Regions from separate parts of the Homo sapiens genome. Here region 1 is linked to region 2. The links are contacts of gene promoters, found by promoter capture Hi-C in human tissues and cell types (Jung and others, 2019). All regions are on one chromosome and are shown on one strand. The core of a region is centred on a gene start or on the middle of the fragment in contact, and the rest is flanking DNA. Distances in the headings are between cores, read along the strand shown.

Evidence for each region. The method cuts DNA at HindIII sites, captures the fragments that hold promoters and counts their contacts. A contact is called where the count stands out against the background at its distance.
Region 1: a contact is called between a fragment that was not itself captured here and the fragment with the promoter of DNAJC2 in region 2, in 1 of the 25 tissues and cell types used here (lymphoblastoid cells).

What each region holds. Positions count from the first base shown.
Region 1 is chr7:102,767,271-102,770,973 of GRCh38, forward strand. The region is part of intron 4 of FAM185A (family with sequence similarity 185 member A); the gene reads left to right. Among named protein-coding and RNA genes, the nearest start is that of FAM185A, 20 kb to the left of the region's middle. The HindIII fragment of the contact is 4,026 bases long and covers 1-3,263 here.
Region 2 is chr7:103,342,450-103,346,265 of GRCh38, forward strand. DNAJC2 (DnaJ heat shock protein family (Hsp40) member C2) reads right to left here and starts at 2,318. Exons shown (of 17, transcript NM_014377.3): 1 at 2,110-2,318. The coding sequence starts at 2,173. It also overlaps a transcript of PMPCB not described here. RefSeq lists an enhancer at 2,261-2,500. The HindIII fragment of the contact is 6,679 bases long and covers 1,431-3,816 here.

The DNA of each region.
Region 1 (3,703 bases), core at 1-2,500, 580 kb before region 2:
TGTGGCTTCCAAGTCTTCCATGAAAAATGAGACAGCACAGAGGATCATGGAAGAAGTTTCAGAAACCAGGCCTAGAAGTGCATATATTACTTCTGCCCATAGATCTTTGGACAAAATATTTTCAAATGGCTTTACCTAACTGCAAAGGCTGAGATATGTAGTTTAGCAGTACTTTTATGGAAGAAGAGAGGCACACAAATATTAATGGACACTGGCAGTCTCTATCATATATTTATAATTGCTCTTTCACAAATGTCTCTATATTCCTTCTCTTTCCACCTCTGTGATAATTGGTATTCTCCAGGATTTCATCCTTGTCCTATTGTTCTTTCTCTACATATTTTCCTAGGGCATCTTATATACTTTTGAGTCTGAACTACCCTTACAAGGGTGTTTCAAATCTGATTATTCAAATCTATGTCTCTAGCCCTGACTAATTTATACATCCATCTGGCAGGTAGACATAGCCATTTGGATCTTCACAGACATCTTGAACTCAACATTTCTTGCTTTTTTCCCTTCTTCCCCAGTCCCTGAACGTCATCTGTAATGTGTCCTCTTTCCTTGTTTTTATTTGCTGTTTCTGATATTGCCATGTTCCCAATTCCCATGCTATAAATCTGGCAGTGGTCTTAACTTCCTGTTTCTCTCTCATCTCCTGCATCTAATCAACTACCAAGTTTAGGCAGGTTTTATCTCCTAAATATTTTTTCAATCTATCTCACCTTTTTCCTGCTAATTTCTACACTTCTGTTTTAGACCCTCTTGACCTCTTGCCTTGATACTAGCAATAACTTTGCCTCCAGCCTTGCCTTCTTCAGATCCATTTCTCCTCACTGCAGCTAAAGTAGTTTATTAGTAATGCACATTGAACATGTCATTCTCTTATTCGGACCGTTTTCTACTGCCTTAGTGACGTGCCCAACTTCCCTCTTCCCTCTTCTGACTGTATGCTTTGTCTTCCAGAATTAGTCTTTTTTCCTATATACATTTTTACCTGTTTTATACCTCTGAGTTCTTGATCAGAGCCTTTGATCATACTGATCATACTGTTTATATTCTGCCTGAAATGCTTTTCCTAGCTTTTTAAAAATCTTGTTGACTTTTTTAATCTTTCAGTACTCAGCTAAAGCATCTTGCCTCATCTCTGGTTTTCTATAAATCCTTGCCTAATTATAAATTCCTCAAGAACAAAGATTATGTTTTATTCATCTCTATATTCTTAGCATTTAGCACTGTGGCTTGCAAATACAAGTGTCTCCCTTTCCACCTCCCCACCCCTACCCACCAAAAACCACAAAATGACTTAATCTTTAAGGATACTTGATTACTCTGTTTGGATTTTAAGAGTTCTATGTGCTTGAACCATAATCACATTTCTTTTGGTGAAGAAAAATAAACCAATGTTTATCTTTAAATTGATTACATTTTTTTTTCCTCTGACCATGCTAGAATGAAAGGTTACAAGCTAAGAAAAACTATCTATTTTCTCAAATACTGGGATTTGTGGAAAACTTATATAACTTGAGAGTAGGGTAAGCACACATAGTTATTACAGACCATCTGGTGTCTGCTTTATTGGAAAGAAGCTTTTACTAAGATTTACTCCTCTCAAATAATTAATTTATTATTTTCAGTGTTTGGAGATGAAGTAGGTGGAATCAAAATATAGAAAATTTTGCTAATAATGCCCATTTTGTTGCTTGGTATACTTTTAAATATACTACTTTATTCCACTATGCATTTGAAGGAAGAAATCCATTTTGTGTTTTCTAATGACTTTAGAATATTTCTGTTTAAGGTAGAGATTTTCTAAATATTTTGATATGAGTTGAAAATAAGTTTTTGTTTACTGTTTTATTTAGAGTTGACAAAAATATTTTGAAGTGTTACTTACAACTAGACAGTATTTGAAATGATTCCTTAATTCCATGGGTTTTTGTTGTTGTTGCTCCATTATGCTTTTAGTATACAGTAGAACTCAAACATTCAAGAAGAATGTTATCTGAGACTCTATAGGTCCCACTATAATTAACTAATCCTCATTTTGTATAGATCTAAAACTTCTATTTTTCTGGTTCAAAGAATCATTGTTTTCTCAAGACCTCCTCACTTTCATGACAAGCACTAATGATTGGCTTTTTGAGAAAGACCATATTTTTATTTTAAAAAAAATTGTAAATTTTTACTGCATTATTAAAGACTAGTGTAAAACTATAAAGCTCCATTGCCTTGATGAGTGGGTGACTGGATTCACTAGCTAAATGACTGTAAAACTTTATCATAGTTCTTTATTAATAAAGTTACGAATATCAGGGACCTGTCTATCTTTTATTGTTCAGGAGGTAGAGCAGTGTCTTAGTCTGTTTTCTGTTGCTATAACAGAATACCTGAGACTGAGTGATTTATAAAGCTTATATATTACAGTTCTGGAGGCTGAGAAGTCTGAGGTCTAGGAGCCGCATCTGGTGAGAGCCTTCTTGCGGATAGGGGCTCTGCAGAGTCATGAAGTGGCACAGGCCTCACATGGAGAGAGGCTGCATGAGAGACACCCACACTGGCTCTTATAACAGACTCACTCTTGTAATAGCTAACCCACTCCCTCTATGACCCATTAATCCATTGATTCATGAATGGGTTAATCCATTCATGAGGGTAGAGCCCTCATGACCCAATTACCTCCCAAAGGTCCCACCTCATAGTATTGCTGCACTGGGGACTAAGTTTCCAACACATGAACTTTTGTGGGAACGTTCAAACCACAACAAGCAGTAAAGAGAATGCTGAGTATGGAAACACCCACTGTCTCACACTAGGTGAATCTCCTTAAAGCATGGTTTTCTTGTATTTTTATTCATCTTGAAATTCTTCACTAACTTTTTTGGTGTAGGATAGTCAGTAGACTTAGCACTCTGTGGTTCTACCACAGGTTGCTCTTTACCTACTTTTCCAAACTTTTTATTTGTTCACAAAATAATTGTGTTTACTATGTACTATGCACTGTGCAAAGTTCCCAGGTATGAAGCTAAATAAGAAAGATGTGATTCCTGTCCTCCTAGACTTGCCTCATTGGGATCTAATTAAATGAAAGAGCTTCTGCACTGCAAAAGAAATTATGAACAGAGTAAATAGACAACCTACAGAATGGGAGAAAATATTTGCAAACTCTGTATCTGACAAAGGTTTAATATCCTTTGTTCCTTTGAATCTTCAAGGAAGTTAAACAAATCAATAAGCAAAAAACTAATAACCCTATTAAAAATGAGCAAAAGACAGGACATTTTGCTCATTTCTCAAGAGAAGACGTACAAGAAACCAACAAACATGAAAAACTGTTCCAAATCACTAGTCATCAGAGAAATGCAAATCAAAACCACAATGAGATATCATCTCACACCAGTCAGAATGGCTATTATTAAAAATAAGTAAAAAAACAACAGACGCTGGCGAGGCTGTGGAGAAAGGGGAACACTCATACACTGTTGGTGGGAATGTAAATTAGTTCAGCCACTGTGGAAAGCAGTTTGAAGATTTCTCAAAGAACTTAAAACAGAACCACCATTCAACCCAGCAATTCCATTACTGGATATATACACAAAAGAAAATAAATCATTCTTCCAAAAAGACACATGCACTCAACATATTCACTGCAGCTCTATTCACAATAGCAAAGACATGGAATCAACCTATGTGCCCATCAGTG
Region 2 (3,816 bases), core at 1,068-3,567:
CATGCGCCACCATGCCCAGCTAATTTTGTATTTTTAGTAGAGATGGGGTTTCTCCATGTTGGTCAGCCTGGTCTCGAACTCCCGACCTCAGGTGATCTGCCTGCCTCGGCCTCCCAAAGTGTTGGCATTACAGGCGTGAGCCACTGCACCCACCTGGACAATTTTTTTTTTTTTTTTGGGACGGAGTCTTGCTCTGTCACCCAGGCTGGAGTGCAATGGCGCGATCTTGGCTCACTGAAAGCTCCGCCTCCCGGGTTCAAGCGATTCTCCTGCCTCAGCCTCCCGAGTAGCTGGGACTACAGGCACCCGCCACCACCCCCGGCTAATTTTTTGCATTTTTAGTAAAGACGGGGTTTCACCATATTAGCCAGGATGGTCTTGATCTCCTGACCTCGTGATCCACCCACCTCGGCCTGCCAAAATGCTGGGATTACAGGCGTGAGCCACCGCGCCCGGCCTAGACAAATAATTTTAATAAAGTAATAAATAGTGATAAATTGTCACGAAGAGCTAGCCTCACCAAAAATAAAAAATCTAAAAACAACTCAAACTATCTTTTTATTTTTTGAGACGGAGTTTTGCTCTTGTTGTCCAGGCTGTAGTGCAATAGCGCAATCTCGGCTCACTGCAACCTCCGCCTCCCGGGTTCAAACGATTCTTCTGCCTCAGCCTCCCAAGTTGCTGGGATTATAGGCGCCCGCCACCACGCCCAGCTACTTTTTTGTATTTTTAGTAGAGACAGGGTTTCACCCTGTTAGCCAGGCTGGTCTCGAACTGCTGACCTCAGGTGATCCACCTGCCTCGGCCTCCCAAAGTGCTGGGATTATAGACGTGAGCCACCGCACCCAGACAACTCAAACTGTCTTAATTATTAAAATCTTGAATATAGCTCTTAAAAATTTTAAGAATTCACTAACAAGAATTTGTCCTGAAAGCAATTTTCCAAGCAGCAAATGGGAATTTACTAATGCAGCTAAGCTGTAGTGGAACAAGCTCTCAATCTGAAACCAGACACTCTGGGTTTTAGACTAGGTCTGACAGTGGCTATGTGACCTGAAATGAATCAGGATGTCTTCACCTGTAAAATGGGAACAATACCTATTTATCTCATTCAGTTCCTAGGAAGCTTGAATGAGACCACAGAAACTCTCTGAAATTACAAACTTGTAGTAAAGGTATCATCTATTCCTGGGAAGTGGGGGTAAATCACTGTACATGTGTATACTAGCAATTCAAAAAAGGAAAATCCCTGAACAACTTATTTTAAGATTTCCTCCACCTTACACAGGAGAGGATTAAAACACTGTCAAAAAGGTACTACCTGTGTAGTATGGGTGTGTGGCTTTTAAGAACACTGCCTTTTAAGCCTTTTGCTCTAGTTGTAAGAGGCACACGGAGACACATAAATGCAACACGTGCCATGGGTTATGTTCAAAATCACATTCAACAAGCGCCTATGTGACTGGCTATGGGAATTACTGTAGATCACTGGACCTGAAGACTCTTAAGTTTACAATACTCATGACTGTCCTGGGCCATAAAACTAAAACCTACAGCAGCAGGACAAGTTTCACTTGTAATAACTGCCTTTCAAAGTCTACGCGGATCTTTTCAGCAGCACAGTCTTTGAACACCGAGTATGAGGAGCGGTGTCTGAGTTGTGACATTTAAAAAACAAGGCCGGAGCAAACGTAGAGAGGGAGAAAGTTGTTTAAGAGAGCGCCAGTAGCAAAGCTTTGTACGACCCCAGGCACGTGGGGTGCTCGCTGCGCGTAGTCTTTCCACCGTAGGCAAGGAGATGCTTATGAGAACCTTTCTGGGGTGCTGGGGGGTTCCGTCCCGAAATGCTCAGCCCAATCCATGAGTCAGCAGCGGCGAGAGGAGGAAGCAACGGTAGGAGCAAAAGGAAGGCACCCCTCACCCTCCTTCCTTCTAATCTAGGGTAGGATTACTTTAAAACACGGAGCAAAAAGGCACTCGTCACGGCCCCATACGGCCCCGGGGCTAGTCGCCAGGGTCAAGGGTAGAGAGAGCCCAGGGTTGCCGAGGCGGAGGACTGAGGCAGGGGCAGCTGAGGTGAGAAGGAACCGAGGTTGGGTGGGCACTTACCAGAGGTCAGAGCGTGGGTGATGGCGGTGCCCCGGCCGTCCGCGGCGCTTGGCAGAAGCAGCATGATGGCGCCGGGTCTAGCCCGGTGGGCGCAGCGGCTCACGTCCCGGGCGGAGGGCGCTTAGGGTCCCCTCCAGCTCTACCTCTCACTCCGAGCCTCGCGCCTTGGCTCTAAGACGCCCAGGAACCGGCGCATGGAGACGACCAGTAAGCACTTCCGGGATGGATCTTTCGTGGTGTGGAGGCCAGTCTCACACCCTCCCACCCCCGCCAACGTGTGCGGTAACCTAGTTCTATACTGACTGAGATCCGGCTGGAGACCAAGTCGCACGAGAGAATGGTTCCTAGGCGCATCAGTTTTCCTGTAAAAAGGATTATATTCCACGTCCCAGTGCAATACATAGAACATAACCTTTAAAAGCAGTTCTTTTTATATTATCTTTAAGTTCTTACTGCTTTATGTATTAATCTGAACCTAATCAGTGATTTTCCCAGGAGCGCTATACTTTTAAGTAAAAAATGAAAATACCTGTATGAACCAGTATCGACGACTAGTATATACATTTGCGGAGAATTACGTACGTGTATTTGTGATACATTTGTGTTTAACTTGATGATGATAATAGCAGCTAATATTTGTCGTGCTATTACTAATTTACCTGCATTATATCTTTTAATACTCGCTTGGAGAAGAAACCTCTCTCTAGTGTGTTAGATTGTATTCCAAGGCCAGCAATATTTTTACCTTGTTCTAATGAAGTTTTTATTCAAGATATTCCCAATTATAGGACTCTGGGACTTAATTTTTTAATGTATAATAAAATCAATTGTATTCCTACTATATGCTTCCTTCTAAGACTGCAGTCAAAAGCAAAAACTAGCAAAAACAAACAGTGGGTAAAGGCTCACCCCCAACAGCAGTATCTGAAACAGGTTCAATAAAATAAACTTGATATGCCACTCTTTAGCAAGGACCACCAGAAATTAGTAAATTAGAAAATAACTTACTAATTTCATTATATTTTCACAATTAAAGTTTTTAAATATATTATATATATATATATGTATATTTTTTTTTGTAGAGACAGGGTCTCACTATGTTGCCCAAGGTGGTCTTGAACTCCTGGCCTCAAGGGATCCTCCTGCCTCAGTCTCCCAAAACTCTGGGATTAGAGGCGTGAGTCACTGTGCCAGGCCAATTAAATACATTTAATTGGTCTGTATATCTGCTGCATGATAAAATTGTCACTTCAAAACTGACTTTTCAAAAATTGAACTAAGGGAGGCTGAGGTGGGAAGATCGTTGAGGCCGGGAGGTGGAGGTTGCAGTGAGCTGAGATCACACCATTGCGCTCCAGCCTGGGTAACAGTGAGACCCCGTCTTTAAAAAAAAAAAAATTGAACTAATCTTCTGCCCCAAAACCTCTTCCTGATCCCTACTAATGCAACCACTGTTAAAACATGCTCCAAGGTGCAAAGTAACCTGACTCCACTTTCTTCATATTAATATATTTTTTTCCTCACACCTCCTCCCATTCAATTTTACCATTAACTCTAACATGGGTTTTTGTTTTTTTGTTGTTTTCTTTTCTGAGACAGAGGCTTGCTCTGTCGCCCAGGCTGGAGTGCAGTGGCCTGATTTCGGCTCACTGCAATCTCTGCCTCCCAGGTTCAAGCGATTCTCCTGCCTCAGCCTCCCGAGTAGCT